Regions from separate parts of the Homo sapiens genome. Here region 2 is linked to region 1. Evidence: promoter capture Hi-C in human tissues and cell types (Jung and others, 2019). All regions are on one chromosome and are shown on one strand. Each heading gives the region's core, a stretch centred on a gene start or on the middle of the fragment in contact. The rest is flanking DNA. Distances are from core to core; before and after follow the strand shown.

Region 1 (7,868 bases), core at 3,967-6,466:
CATATCCACCCTAAGTGCCCTAGCAGCTTTGGGGACCCTGTCCTTATTTCCTGCCAGGTGGGGGAGAATAAATGATAACCAAACACCATTAAGGTGGCTTTTTTCAATCCAAATTCCCAAAGCACAATTAGTAGGTAGGACAGTAGAGACTCTCACTCCCCTTCTCACTCATCACTTATGCCAAAGCATTTGTTACTGGTAGTCTTCCACACCCTGCTCATAAAAAGCCCTTGCACTTTTCTGTTTCAGAAACCATGTGTCTATCACAAGCTGATTAGTACGGAAGAAACTCAGATAGAAAAAATTGCTGGGCACGATGGCTCACGCCTGTAATCCCAGCACTTTGGGAAGCTGAGACGGGCAGATCACCTGAGGTCGGGAGTTCAAGACCAGCCTAACTAACATGGAGAAACCCCATCTCTACTAAAAATACAAAATTAGGCATGGTGGCACATGCCTGTAATCCCAGCTACTCAGGAGGCTGAGGCAGGAGAATCACTTGAACCCAGGAGGTGCAGGTTGTAGTGAGCTGAGATTGTGCCACTGCACTCCAGCCTGGACAACAAGAGTGAAACTCCATCTCAAAAAAAAAAGAAAAGAAAAGAAAAGAAAAAGAAAAAAAATTAAGCTGGTGTGGTGGCTCACACCTGCAATCCCAGCACTTTGGGAGGCCAAGGTGGGTGGATCACTTGTGGCCAGGAGTTCGAGACTAACCTGAGCAACATGGTGAAACCCTGTCTCTAGTAAAAATACAAAATTTAGCCAGGCATGGTGGTGTATGCCTGCAATCCCAGCTACTCAGGAGGCTGAGGCACGAGAATCACTTAAACCCATGAGGTAGAGATTGCATTGAGCCAAGATCATGCCACTGCACTCCAACTTGGGCAACAGAGCAAGTCTGAGTTCCACCATATTATTTAATAAACATTAATAGAGGAAATGCTCTTTTTAGATCCTAACTGTAAGGGTATATTCAATTACATTTTTAAAAGCTATATCTCTAACCCATGATGATTAAAGTAAATGAGTGAAAACTCCGTTGGGTGTGGTGGCTCATGCCTGTAATCCCAGCACCTTGGGAGACCAAGGCAGGCTGATCATCTGAGGTTGGGAGTTTGAGACCACTCTGGCCAACATAGTGAAATTTCATCTCTATGAAAAATACAAAAATTAGCCAAGCAAGGTGGTGTACACCTGCAATCCCAGCTACTCAGGAGACTGAGGCACAAGAGTTACTTGAACCCAGGAAGCGGAGGTTGCAGTAAGCTGAGGTCACCCCATGGCACTTTGGCCTGTGCGACAGAGCGGGACTGTCAGAAATAGAAAGAGAGAGAGAGAAAGATTTATTCTATGTAATTCCCACTTATTGTAAAACTGAAAATAACAATGAATTATCAGTTTTATACCTACTTACGTAAAATTACTTCATCTTTCAATTAGTATTGCTATTACTGTTTATGGTTATGGAGCAGAAGCTCAGTCTGTTTTAGTTGCAATACGAGAGGGTGGTGCCTCATTTTGTGCTATGACTCCACAGTGGATGAGTGGAGAAAATTAGTAAATATTGTGCAAAACCAAACAATTTATATGTTTCTGATAAGATTTAAAAATTCTGTATTCCTTGTCTAGAGGGCAAAGCAAAGACTAGATTCTGTGGAGTCACTTATGAGCAAAAAGAAGCTGACAGCTTCAAAACATGTATTGATTAAGGTAGAAGCATTCACCAGCCACCAACTGGGATTGTTTATTTATTTTTTTCCTTTTTGGTGAGGATTTCTGGGTTTGGCAAATATTATTTTGTCTTTAATTATATTTTTCCCAAGATATAAAAAATGGAGTAAAGAGTGTTTCTTCAATGATTTCTTGGATAATTGAGTACAGTTTGTATTTACTAGTTTAGATATACTAAATCCTCCATTGCTTCTTCAGGAGGGATTGCACAAAGACCTTTGTTACCAGGAGGGGTGTGGAGGTCCTTCAGTTTATCTTCCTGAAGGAAAGAATTCATCTAGGAGGCACACAGAAAGAGTTAAATCGTTAAGTAACCTTTATTTAAAGACAGGAGGTCAAGAAGAGACAGAACTGGCTGCTGCAGAGAGTGAGTCAGCTGCTAGTGACTTAGGAGGAATTCCCCGCCGCCCTCCCCAGATGGAGTCTCCTGTAGCCCAGGCTGGAGTGCAGTGGCGCAATCTTGGCTCACTGCAACCTCCGCCTCCTGGTTTCAAGTGATTCTCCTCCCTCAGCCTCCTGAGTAGCTGGGATTACAGGTGCGTGCCACCAGGCCCGGCTAATTTTTTTGTATTTTTAGTAGAGACGGGGTTTCGCCATGTTTGTCAGGCTGGTCTCAAACTCCTGAGCTGTGATCTGTCTGAGGATCCGCCCAAGGAAGTGCAGGGATTACAGGCCTGAGCCACCATGCCTGGCCTGGGAGGAATTTTTATGGGGGCTTTTAAATAAACAGTACACCCTGAAAGACAGAACAGGCTGGGCTGCTCAAATGAATGAGTCTGTCTCACCAATGCTGGGGAGACGCTTCTTTTTGTTTGTTCGTTTTTTGAGATGGAGTTCCCCTCTCGTTGCCCAGGCTGGAGTGGAATGGCACGATCTTGGCTCAACACAACCTCTGCCTCCCGGGTTCAAGCGATTCTCCTGCCTCAGCCTCCCAAGTAGCTGGGATTACAGGCATGCGCCACCACGCCCAGCTAATTTTGTATTTTTAGTAGAGACGGGGTTTCTCCATGTTGGTCAGGCTGGTCTCGCGCTCCCGACCTCAGGTGATCTGCCTGCCTCAGCCTCCCAAAGTGTTGGGATTACAGGCGTGAGCCACCACACCTGGCTGGGGAGATGCTTCTTATGAGAATTTTACATGATTATTCATGAAGGGGTCATGCAGGGGCGTTACTAGTAAGCATGTGTTGGGAACTGGTCTGGGCACACATGTGCCATGTCATTTGGATCTAAAGTCTAACAAGGAATTTCTGGTTAAAAAATAAAATCTCCACACAGGTGTGTGGTTTTTTTTATTATTTTAATGAACAAAATGGTATATTAGGGTGAATTATTAGAGAAGTATACATGCTTCTTAGTGGGGAATAGCTCCTACCTTGGTAACCTCTGGCTGGGCCTTGATAAGTTCCCTTCTGGAACAGAGGAATGCAGCCACAAGGCCAGGTGTAGCCAGTGTAGCCACGCTCCTCCTTTTGCTGACTCAGCGTGCAGCGTTTCCAAGGAGGCCATCAGCGGGCTGCATTTCTAAAGATTCCTTTCCCAGGGGCTTCCTTGCCTGCTCTTGTCTGGCTACCTGCCTACCCTAACAGTATTCCCCCTCAAGAGTTGGAGACCCTGAAAAGCTTTGGGCATAAGGACGTCGTGGGTCTTCTGTAACTACTTCCTGCTGACGTGGGACGAAGAAGTCATCAGGGTCTCCCTCTCTTGCTCTCTGTCAGGGAAGGAGCCCCTCCGTAGTTGCAGAATCTTTGCCCACTGGCATCCAAGGGAGATATGTACTTGTAGGTGCTGGGACCTCCAAGGAAGATTGGATGATCTCTTTCCATTTTTAGGGGCTCTGTGTGAAATTGCCATATCCTGGAAGAGACATATTTAATTAGTGAATTATAGAGACAAGGGCCAAAGAGGAGAAAGCAGGCTATTAAGTGCAGCTGGTCCCAGTAAAGGGACAAACCATGTGAGGGAGGGGAGGGCAGACTTCACAGCCTCCCAAATGGACCCTGCTGAATCACCTTTTCCAAAGTTATGGAGCCACGTAACCTCATCATAGATCTTTTTTATATCCTCCTCTATCGCCCCACTGTTATTGACATAAATGCAACAGGATTTACTGATCACTGCACAGACTCCACCCTGCTCTGCTAAGAGGTAATCTAAGGCCAATCTGTTGTTCATGACTACATTTGCTAGAGAATCTATGGAGGCCTTGAGTTTAGAGATGCTATCTCTGGTACTCTTAGCTATGTTGTCTATTTGTCTGGAGAGATTTCTGAGGGTGACATCATGATAAGTGAACCCTCCCCATGGGGCGATCATTCCTATGGCCGCACCCATCCCTGCCAGTATTAGACCCAGAGCTCTTTTCTGTCTGGGTTGGGTGGTGTTATAAATGGTCACACCTATCCCCCGTGGTCCCAAAAGTCCCACAGCACATTCTCCCGTATGTTGGATGTTATTAATGCAAGTGTAGAGGTTTGCCACAGGGGGGGTTGAATAAGTTATCTTAGGACTTCCATCAAAGGGCAGTTTATTTTTTTGTGGCCCACATAAAAATACATAGCCAGGAGGGGTACAGGCCCACCGGGGGATGTGGCTGTCGAACCACTTGTGTAACTGCGATTTCCACCCTGCTGGAATAGTTTGATTGCATGCAGGGGATAGAGGCCCTCCCAGGGGAACAGTAGATTTTGGCCATGTGGGGACAGTGTGTGCCTTGGGAAGCAAATATAGAACCCTCCATGTGATTAGCTCTTTTCCTTCCCAAGCTGCACAGCGGTTTTGGGGTGACTTGTCTCGATAATCGTTCATTTGTTTAGCTGGACACCAGTGAGTCAAGTTAGGGTGGCAGCCTGCTGGGGAGAAGCTCATGGGATGGATGGTGGGACTGGGGAATCCCTCCTCAGAGGTGTTCTTCCTGTCACAGTGTCCTTCAGGGCATGGACAACAGGTTTGGTTTAGAGAAGAGCAGTTGTAGAAATAGAAAGAAGTTTTAGAGCTTTGATTGAAAGGTGGAGTGAGATCCAGGCAGGGGACTTGGTGCGCTGAGTTAGCAAGCGAAACCTGGAGCGGAACAGATTTATGTTGGCCTTCAGGGATTCCTGAACCAAATGTTAGGTTTAAAGAAAAATTTCTTACCAAAATATATTGGTAAGATGAGGACCTGGTGATGAAGTTGTGGCAGATCCAACAGTTGCTTAGATGGTTTCCCGAAGCAATTATTTTGGAAAAACTGACAAGGGAATTTTCATTCCACTGTGCCTGTGAGAGTAGGGGCATGGGAAGGAGGGAAAGATAAAGGAAAAGGAATTTCTCTGTCATAGCTGATTCTCCCTTAAGCTTTGTGAAAGCAAAAGGAAAGTGCTGAAAATAGGAGAGACAAATAATGAAATGGTTCGATGGAGTGTTTAGTGAGAAATCAGGCTGTTATCGGGACTTCAGGTGGCATGCCAGTGTGGGTCAAAATAAGGAGAAGAACCGATGCCACCGCAACCAAGATTCCCCGTACTGAGAGACCTTTTTTTGAGGTGAAAGGAGAGAAGGCTTTACTTATCTTTTCACTTGAAGAGGAATTGGAAGCTCTCCAGTGGCTGGCTCATGAGACTACTCAGATGCTGATTCTGTTGTTGGTTCTTCGGGACCTTCTCACAGTTTTACTCAGGAGTGATGTATCCAACTAGAGATTCCAGAAACTTTGATAGCTGTCGGGGTAGAAAGTAATAAAGGGGCCTTTCCATAAAGGAGAGACCCAGGCTAGTTGAGACCTGGGTGACCCATCTCTCCAGGTTTTGATGAGGACTTGTGACCCTGGCTAGTATAAGGGTTGATTACTGGAGGGGTCAGTGGCAGGCAGTACCTTTTGCTCAAACTCCTGGATGGCTTGTTGAAATTGGGCCAGTGATGTTATGTATTTGATTAATTGGGTAACTTCTGGATCTAACATTAGGTCTGCATGTAGGAAGGCATAAGTAATATTAGGGGTCATGCTCAGAACAGTGCTACGGACAGGAGTTCTAACCATGGTGAGGAGGTTTCCTGGCACACTTTGTTCAGGGTCCTTTTAATAGTTTGATTAGTGCTTTCTACCTTGCCAGAGGAATGTGTTCTCCAGGAGTGCTAGGAGTACTTTATTTCTAGGGCTTTTGTCACTAATTAAAGGGTGCGTGAAATAAAAACTGGGCCGTTGTCACTTTGTAAACACAAACTAAACCCACACTGAGGGGTGATTTTTTTTTTCTTTTTGTTTTTGAGACGGAGTCTCGCTCTGTTGTCCAGGCTGGAGTGCAGTGGCACAATCTCAGCTCACCACAAGCTCCACCTCCCGGGTTCACACCATTCTTCTGCCTCAGCCTCCTGAGTAGCTGGGACTATAGGCGCCCGCTACCACACCCACCTAATTTTTTCTCTTTTTTAGTAGAGACAGGATTTCACTGTGTTAGCCAGGATGGTCTCAATTCTCTGACCTCGTGATCCGCCTGCCTCGGCCTCCCAAAGTGCTGAGATTACAGAAGTGAGCCACCACGCCCGGCCGGGATGATTTTTTTTTTTTTTTTAAGAAGTACCTTGGCTACTTCCTGGGCCTTTTCTGTTCTTGTAGGAAAGGCTTTAACCCACCCAATAAAGGTGTCCACAAACACCAGAAGGCATTTATAGCCTCTACAGGCTGGCAATTGAGTGAAATACATCCATCAGTCTTTCCCTGGGTAAGCTTCCCAATGCTGAACTGGCTCAACTAAGCAGGACAGGGAGCTGCATTGGCTCTGGCCGGTTGTCCTGGGTCACAAGGAGGCAAGGCTACGCGTTTGAGGCCAACCTGGGCAACATTGAACAAAAAAAAAAATTTGGCTGGGCACGGTGGCTCATGCCTGTAATCCCAGCACTTTGGGAGGCCGAGGCAGGCGGATTACCTGAGGTTGGGAGTTCAAGACCAGTCTGACCAGCATGGAGAAACCCCATCTCTACTAAAAATACCAAAAAAAAAAAAAAATTTTTTTTGGTCTTTTTTTGGTGGCACCTGCCTGTAATCCCAGCTACTCAGGAGGCTGAGGCAGGAGAATCGCTTGAACTTGGGAGGGAGAGATTGCGATGAGCTGAGATCACGCCGTTGCACTCCAGCCTGGGTACTAAGAGTGAAACTTTGACTCAAAAAAAAAAAAAAAAAAAAAAAAAAGCAGGGCAGCGTAGGGCCCTGGGGGCTATTACAGGCACAGGATGCACAGGTGTTAAAGACCTGACAAATAGTCTAGTAGAGCCCTTTCCTGGAAAAGAGGTTTTTGCACATGTGCTGGAGATGATGTCTCCCAAAGTGACATGACTCATGGAGTGCTCTCACAAGTTTTTACTGGAGGGCCTAGGAAAGTGGAGAATTCCTCCCACTGTATACCACACCTCAGGTTCTCGGGTAGATTCATATTTGATAGCCCATTCCTTTTCCTCTTGGGTTTTTGTGGGTGGGTAAGGTGTTGGGTAAAGATGGGTTAAGGGCCATGAGGAGTTCCCTACAGGGTAGTGGTCCTGGCTGTTTGATCCACCCTCCTGTTTTGCTGGGCATTTTCTCCCTGGTCCTTTGGTGTCCCTGGCCATGGACTACAGCTATTTCCTGTGATAGGTGTACAGCTTAGAGCAGGGCCAGGATCTGTGGTCCACATTCCTTAGGGGTATCTTTTGCTGGTAAAAATCCCTGTTCCTTCCAGATGGCCACATGAGCATGGAGTCCTGAGAGGGCATATTTTGAATCTGTATAAATTGTAGCTTTTGGGTTTTTCCCTATTTCTATGGCTCTAGTTAAGGAAATGAGCTCTGCTAGCTGTGCCAATGTTCTTGGAGGAAGGGATTTGGCTTCTATAATGTCAAATAGAGACACTATTGCATAACTGCATGTGTCACTCCATGTTGGATGAAACTGCCGCCATCAGAAAACCAGACTTAATCAGGGTTCAGTAGTGGAGAACCCTTTAAATGTTTTCTACCAGCAGAATAGATTTCCTGTGTTGCAGGGAGAGTTACAGACTTTAACAGGCCATGTCTAAGGAATGGGTTAATGATAGGCTCAAGTCCTTCTGTTGCCTCTGGCCATAGCGAGTATTGTTTCTTATGAAAGAAGTGGAAGGTTTTCTTAGCTGGATTTTGACTGGGACTGCAGT
Region 2 (7,116 bases), core at 1,149-3,648, 230 kb before region 1:
CTCTCTTTCTGCTGTGATAACCCACCAATAGGCGATGGACAACTTTTGGTGGACTCTCCCATGGAAGAGGTTTCCTTGGTGACAGAACATTCTTGAAAGAGAACATTAATTAATCTGTCACAGTATCATTCTGCTACATAGAGGTGCCTCTTGAAGCCACTGAGTAGAGTAGCCTGCATGTCCCAGTATGCTGAGAGAGAATCAGGACAGCCGGAGGGATAAGTGCTTCTGACCTTCTGGTTTCTGTGGAGTTTCCAGTGTCTCCCAAGGGCAGTGTGACAACGCTGGTTAGATATATGCTGATCATCCTCTTGGAGCCAGCAGTACAAGGTGTAGGAGTTTCTCCTGGGAAGAGCATTCTCCAAGTTCTCAACCTCATATCTGCGAACATGTTGACCAAACTGTTGCTCATACCACATTATTCATCCCATACGTGCAGTTGTACATTTTTCTTCAGTATGATTTTTATGCCTTTATTGAGGGAGCTTACAAAGTTGAATTAGGCATACATTTTTAAAGTTCAGTATAATTTGGTTAAGCCACTGACACTTTCATTTTGCCAATGTCATTGGTATAAATGAACTTGTATGTATTTAATCAGCAGTTACATGTTTTCATGATACTCTTAGTGTTTTTTGTTTTATATCTACAGTGTGTGGGGCCATGAGATGAATGAATATTGTTTTATTATATATATTTTTTTCTGCTTCATATACTTTCATGATGTTTTATATGTTTTACCAGAAGATTTCTTCCTTGAGTATTTATGTCTGAGTATTAGTTTCCTCAAAACATATATAACCTCCAAAACTTTGTTAAAGGATAGTATTAGTTATTCCTTTTACTTCTGTTTCCTGTAACTTTATATCAACTCTTAGCTTATACTTTTTAAAAATAGACTTTCTATTTTTTAGCAATTTTATGTTCACAGCAAACTAGATTTCCTGTATACTCTGTTCCCCCACACGTGCACAGCGTCTTCCCCCATTATCACCATCCCCCATCACAGTGGTACATTTGTTAAAATTGATAAACCTACATTGACACATCATTATCACCCAAAGTCCATAGTCGATGTTGGGGTTCACTCTATGTATATGCTTTGGGTTTGGGCAAATATATAATAGACATATATCCTCCATAATAGTATCTTACAGAATAATTACACTGCCCTAAAAAATCTGTGCTCTGTCTGTTCATCTCTCCCTCCCCCCAGCACCTGGCAACCACTGATCTCTTTACTGTCTCCATAGATTTGCCTTTTTCAGAATGTCATATAGTTGGAACCATATAGTATATGGCCTTTTCAGATTGGCTTCTTTCACTTAATAATATGCATTTCAATTTCTAGGGCTGGGCGTGGTGGCTCACGCCTGTAATCCCAGCACTTTGGGAGGCCGAGGCCGGCGGATCACGAGGTCAGGAGATCAAGACGATCCTGGCTAACATGGTGAAACCCCGTCTCTACTAAAAATACAGAAAATAAGCCGGGCGTGGTGGCGGGCACCTGTAGTTCCAGCTACTCAGGAGGCTGAGGCAGGAGAATGGCGTGAACCTGGGAGGCAGAGGTTGTGATGAGCCGAGACCATGCCACTGCACTCCAGCCTGGGCAACAGAGCGAGACTCCATCTCAAAAAATAGATAAATAAAATAAATTTCTTCCATGTCTTTTTATAGCTTGACAGCTCATTTCTTTTTAGCACAGAATAACATCCCTTCATTGCACACACTGTGTAAAGAATGACTCCTGCTTATACACAGGACAGCTTACTCAGGACAGCAACATGATCTGGTCACTGTCTAAACAACTTGTGCAAGATAAGGTGACTTAAATGCTATCTGAGAGCAGTGGTGCTGTCACACTATAGGTGACACAGCTCAGGTCCCATAATCTGCCTTGAAACATTTCTTCCTACACTCCTCGTATTTGCTGTGATTTATAATCCGTGCTGCCCTGGGTGGCCAGTGGTGCTTAATGCTGTGAACATGGCATCTTAGCCCGCACACACAGGTTCAGATTCTGGCTTTCAGATGTGCTTTCTCTGTGAGTTAGGGATAGATATGTAAACCTCTTCAGCCCTTTGTTTTGGTATGAAAAGGTGCGATAATTTACCTCAAGAGGATTTACATCAATTAGTGCTGTTAGAGACCTTAGTAACTTGCATAGCATTTAGTATGCTTTGAAAAGTTACCTTTATGAATAAGATATGTCAAGTGTCTGTCATGTTTCTTATGAGATTGACCTTTGCCTTCATTATATCTTACATATTTTCTTTTTTGTAATTTTTTTTTTCATATCAACATTTCTCTGACTCTACATAATAAAATGTTAAAGCACACAGCTTTCATTATATGTATTTTTTGGCCATAGAACTGGAAAACTAGATGACATTTCCTAGTCAGGGAGTTTCTCTATATACTGCTGTCATATAACTGCAGGCATGAAATTATTTCAGACTCCCCTCCTAATTCTTCATCTTTATAGTAATGTGCATTTACCTGAAGCTGATATTTCAAAATTTAGTGATTCTCAACATATTATTTTTCCTATTGTGTGTCCCTTCTGTTTTTTCTGTAGTTCATAAGCAGTAATTCTTTAGAATTTCACTGACAATTTTGTGTAATTGTGGTTGTTCATTAACTTGCCTGTTAGATTTTCACAGGTTACTAAAGTGTTTTATTTATTTTTGTAATGATTTACAGATGATGGTTTTTCAGTATATATTATGCAATAGAACCACCATGCACAAATTGTTAATGCTGCAAAATGCACATTCTACATGGGTGTAAGTAGTTTTATAACAAGTACTCACATTTGCAATTTGTAAATATTCAAAATTTTATTAAATTCTTCCGAATTTTTTCTTTCAGTGTTTTGTTTGCAATTATGAATTGTCATTTTTAAATATTTTTTATTAGATAAGCTTGAGCTGTGCCTTACCTTTTGTGTGTAATAATTATGTACTAAATAATGCATTACTATTTGTTTATCTTCAAATATGAGACTACCATATAGCTATGCCAATTTACGTGTTCCTTGGAGTGGTGGTGGAAAAATACCTCTTCTTTCAGAGTTTATGTGGATTTACATAGTATGAGTGTTTTAGCTATAGGGTGTTTTAAACTGTGCTTAAAATAATTTGTTACATGTTTTGTTACTGTGTTACTTTATTGAGGACAGCTAGTCCCTTTGTGTTGTTAAACGTTTAAAGACAGTTGAGAAGCTTCATAACTCTGTTCATTGTAAATCTTAGCTTTCTTGTAATATGTATTTTAATAAAATATTTACCTTGCAACTCTATTTGATGGAAAGCCTGTGGTTTTTTTAATATCTTTCAGATATTTCTGTTGGATTTACAAGCAAGGGATTATCACCAAAGGAAAATAATAAAGAGGAATTATACCATCTGGTGATATTAGAAAGAAAGGAAAGCCATGGCATCAACAATTTTGACCTCAAGGAAGTCTGGGAAAATATGCCTAAGTTTGACAGCCTGTGGGACTATGATGTAAAAAATTACAAAGGAATGCCTTTGACCTGTAACAAAAATCTCACTCACAGAAAAGATCAACAACATAATAAATCCTCAATACATTTCTCTTTAAAGCAGAGTGTTTCTATAAGAGATAGTGCACACCAGTATTTCATCCATGACAAGCCATTTATAAGGAATTTGTTAAAACTGAAAAATAACATAAGGTATGCCGGAAACAAATACGTGAAGTGTTTTGAAAATAAAATTGGATTAAGCTTACAGGCACAGCTGGCTGAACTACAGAGATTTCAAACTGGGGAGAAAATGTATGAATGTAATCCAGTTGAGAAGTCTATCAATAGTTCCTCAGTTTCACCACTTCCTCCTTGTGTCAAAAACATTTGTAATAAATATAGGAAGATTTTGAAATACCCTTTATTACATACACAGTATGGGAGAACACACATTAGAGAAAAATCATACAAGTGTAATGACTGTGGAAAGGCTTTTAGCAAAAGTTCGAACCTCACTAATCATCAGAGAATTCACTCTGGACAGAGACCTTACAAATGTAACGAGTGTGGCAAAGCCTTTAACCAGTGTTCGAACCTCACTAGGCATCAGAGAGTCCATACAGGAGAGAAACCATATCAATGTAATATATGTGGCAAGGTCTGTAGTCAAAATTCAAATCTTGCAAGTCATCAGAGGATGCATACTGGAGAGAAACCTTACAAATGTAATGAATGTGGTAAGGCATTTATCCAGCGTTCACACCTTTGGGGTCATGAAAGAATTCATACTGGAGAGAAACCTTACAAATGTAATGAATGTGACAAAGCCTTTGCTGAACGTTCAAGCCTTACCCAACATAAGAGAATCCATACTGGAGAGAAGCCTTACATATGTAATGAGTGTGGCAAAGCTTTTAAGCAGTGCTCACATCTCACTAGGCATCAGAATATACATCCTGGAGAGAAACCACACAAATGTAATGTGTGTGGCAGGGCTTTTATCCAAAGTTCAAGTCTTGTGGAACATCAGAGAATTCACACTGGAGAAAAACCTTACAAATGTAATAAATGTGATAAAGCTTTTATCAAACGTTCACACCTTTGGGGTCATCAGAGAACTCATACTGGAGAGAAACCTTACAAATGTACTGAATGTGGCAAAGCCTTTACTGAACGTTCAAATCTTACTCAGCATAAGAAAATCCATACTGGAGAGAAACCTTACAAATGTACTGAATGTGGCAAAGCTTTTACCCAATTTGCAAACCTCACTAGACACCAGAAAATACACATTGAAAAGAAACATTGTAAACATAATATACATGGTAATGCTTTATTCCAAAGTTCAAACCTTGGAGATCATCAAAAAAGTTATAATAGAGAAAAACATATCAAATATAATGAGACAAAAATTAAGTATTCAAGCTGTACCTAGCATCAGGGGCTCCATTGTGAAAAGAAACCATATAAAACGAAAATGTGGTAAAGCCTTTAGCTATGGCTTATGTCTCACTTGATACCAGAATATACATCTTTGAGATAAACCACACAAAGATAACATGTATGGCAAGGCTTATCCAAAGTTCAAGCCTTGTGGAACATCATAGAATTCTTACTGTAGAGAAGCCTTACAAATATAATGAATGTGAACAGCTTTATAAAAATATTTACCCTATTATGGTTATAACAGAAGACATTCAGGATGGAAACCATACAAATGTGGCAAGTCCTTTAAGCAATGTTCTGACTTCAGGATACACCATTCATATTGGAGAGAAGCATTACAAGTGAAGGTGGTAAATTATTTTAAATTTCTCAATGGAAATTCATCCTTATATGCAAGCATTTTGTCATACAAAAATTCAGGCTAGAGGGAACTAAGTCTTTTTTCCTTCTTGAAGATTAAGTGATTGATGTTAAATTCACAGACAATTTTAAAAAGTCACAAACTCATGGTGTGTGTCAGAGGAGCAAGGACATCTGTGGAAAGATGTAACTTCAGTGTTAAAAATTTTTTATTCAGTTATTTCATATTTTTAAAAGTATGAAATCTGTTGCTGTTAAATCTTCATGGCATGCTTTTCATTTATCATGATTGTCTCAAGGAATGGATGTAAGATGGAAGGGACTACTTCCTTAGGTGTGGCTTCTTTATATTACTGAAACCTGGAAAAAGCAAGAACACTAATTTTTTCTTTTTTTGGAGACAGAGTCTTGCTCTGTCACCCAGGCTGGAGTGCAGTGGCACCATCTCAGCTCACTGCAACCTCTGTCTCCCGGGTTCAAGCAATTCTCCTGCCTCAGCCTCACGAGTAGCTGGGATTACAGGCATGCGCCATCATGCCTGGCTAGTTTTTTGTTTTTTTGTTTTTGTATTTTTAGTAGAGACAGAGTTTCGCCATGTTGGCCAGGCTGATCTTGAACTCCTGACCTCAGGTGATCCACCTGCCTTGGCCTCCCAAAGTGCTGGGATTACAGGCATGAGCCACCGTGCCCAGCCAAGAACACTAATATACAATATACTATAAGAGCATGGGGGTTTGTGCCAGAAGAGAGGTAAAACTATTGTCTAACATATATGCTTTATGTGGTCAGGACCCCTTAGAATTGTTGATGTGACTGGGGACCTTTGTCGATTATAGGAGAGATTGGTTACAGTACAAGATGACCATGAAACAAGAAGAGTAGGGTGGGACATTGAGAGATTTTCATGGAAGTGAAATGGTCGGTTACTAGAGACTGCATATGTGGTAGAAAGAAATGGAGGGGGAATGATAGTCACCCTCTCTTGAAAGGTAGTTACTGTTGCATATCACAGATTATTGAACATAGATAGGTCTTATTTTTGGAAACTGAAGAGAGAATGGTTACCATAGAGGACAGTTCCATCAAAAGAACCAGAGTAGTGTTCTTATAGGGGATTCACATTTGGCCCCTGAGATTGCATTTGATACCATTTTATTTAGAATATATTATACTTCTTATGTCTTAATTAGTAAAATATAATCATTTTTAGTAACCCTGAATGAATCGTGTGCCTTCCGTCAACCCAAGCATATCCCACCTCATTGGGACACTTAATATCAAACACTATAATACATCATTAGACTCTCAAGGTTGAATGTCATCTATAACAATTTCTATCCATGTTATGTTCAAACAGTATACAATTTAAGAAGTATATATTCATAATTTGCACTTGAAATATTTTCTCCACACTCTGCCCTAGATGACTTCTATGGCTATAATGAAAATGCCATGCCATAGTGGGACAATATCAGACCCCCTGAAACCTGTCTTCCTGTTCATGAATATGCACTGTGCAGTTATATTTCTACATGCCTTTTTTTCTACATAACTTTATTTCTGCATGCCTTTTACATGAGAGGAAAATAACAAATGTAAGCATATGAAAATTATTAGTAAATGAAATTTCTGAAATAATAACACAACTTCTTTTTTTGTACTTGGAGCACTCCGTGAAATAATTTGAAAAAAATCAGTGTTCATGAGTTTCCCCTTAATAATGAACATAAGCAATGGATTTTTTTTTTAAAGAAACTAGAAACCTCATGTATTTACCCCCAAAACATTTTTTTTTACTGATTTGCACTTGTCGCCACTCC

Evidence for each region. Contacts are between HindIII fragments. The study calls those that stand out against the background at their distance.
Region 2: a fragment that was not itself captured here is called in contact with the fragment with the promoter of ERVV-1 in region 1 in 3 of the 25 tissues and cell types used here (dorsolateral prefrontal cortex, heart right ventricle and mesenchymal stem cells).

What each region holds. Positions count from the first base shown.
Region 1 is chr19:53,011,269-53,019,136 of GRCh38, reverse strand. It overlaps ERVV-1 (endogenous retrovirus group V member 1, envelope), which reads right to left and starts at 5,216. Exons shown (of 1, transcript NM_152473.3): 1 at 3,014-5,216. The coding sequence starts at 5,046. The coding sequence ends at 3,613. The region is part of intron 1 of LOC124904758 (a long non-coding RNA gene); the gene reads left to right. The HindIII fragment of the contact is 3,820 bases long and covers 4,208-7,868 here.
Region 2 is chr19:53,234,781-53,241,896 of GRCh38, reverse strand. It overlaps ZNF677 (zinc finger protein 677), which reads left to right. Exons shown (of 5, transcript NM_182609.4): 5 at 3,340-6,516. The coding sequence ends at 4,925. Among named protein-coding and RNA genes, the nearest start is that of ZNF677, 17 kb to the left of the region's middle. The HindIII fragment of the contact is 4,510 bases long and covers 144-4,653 here.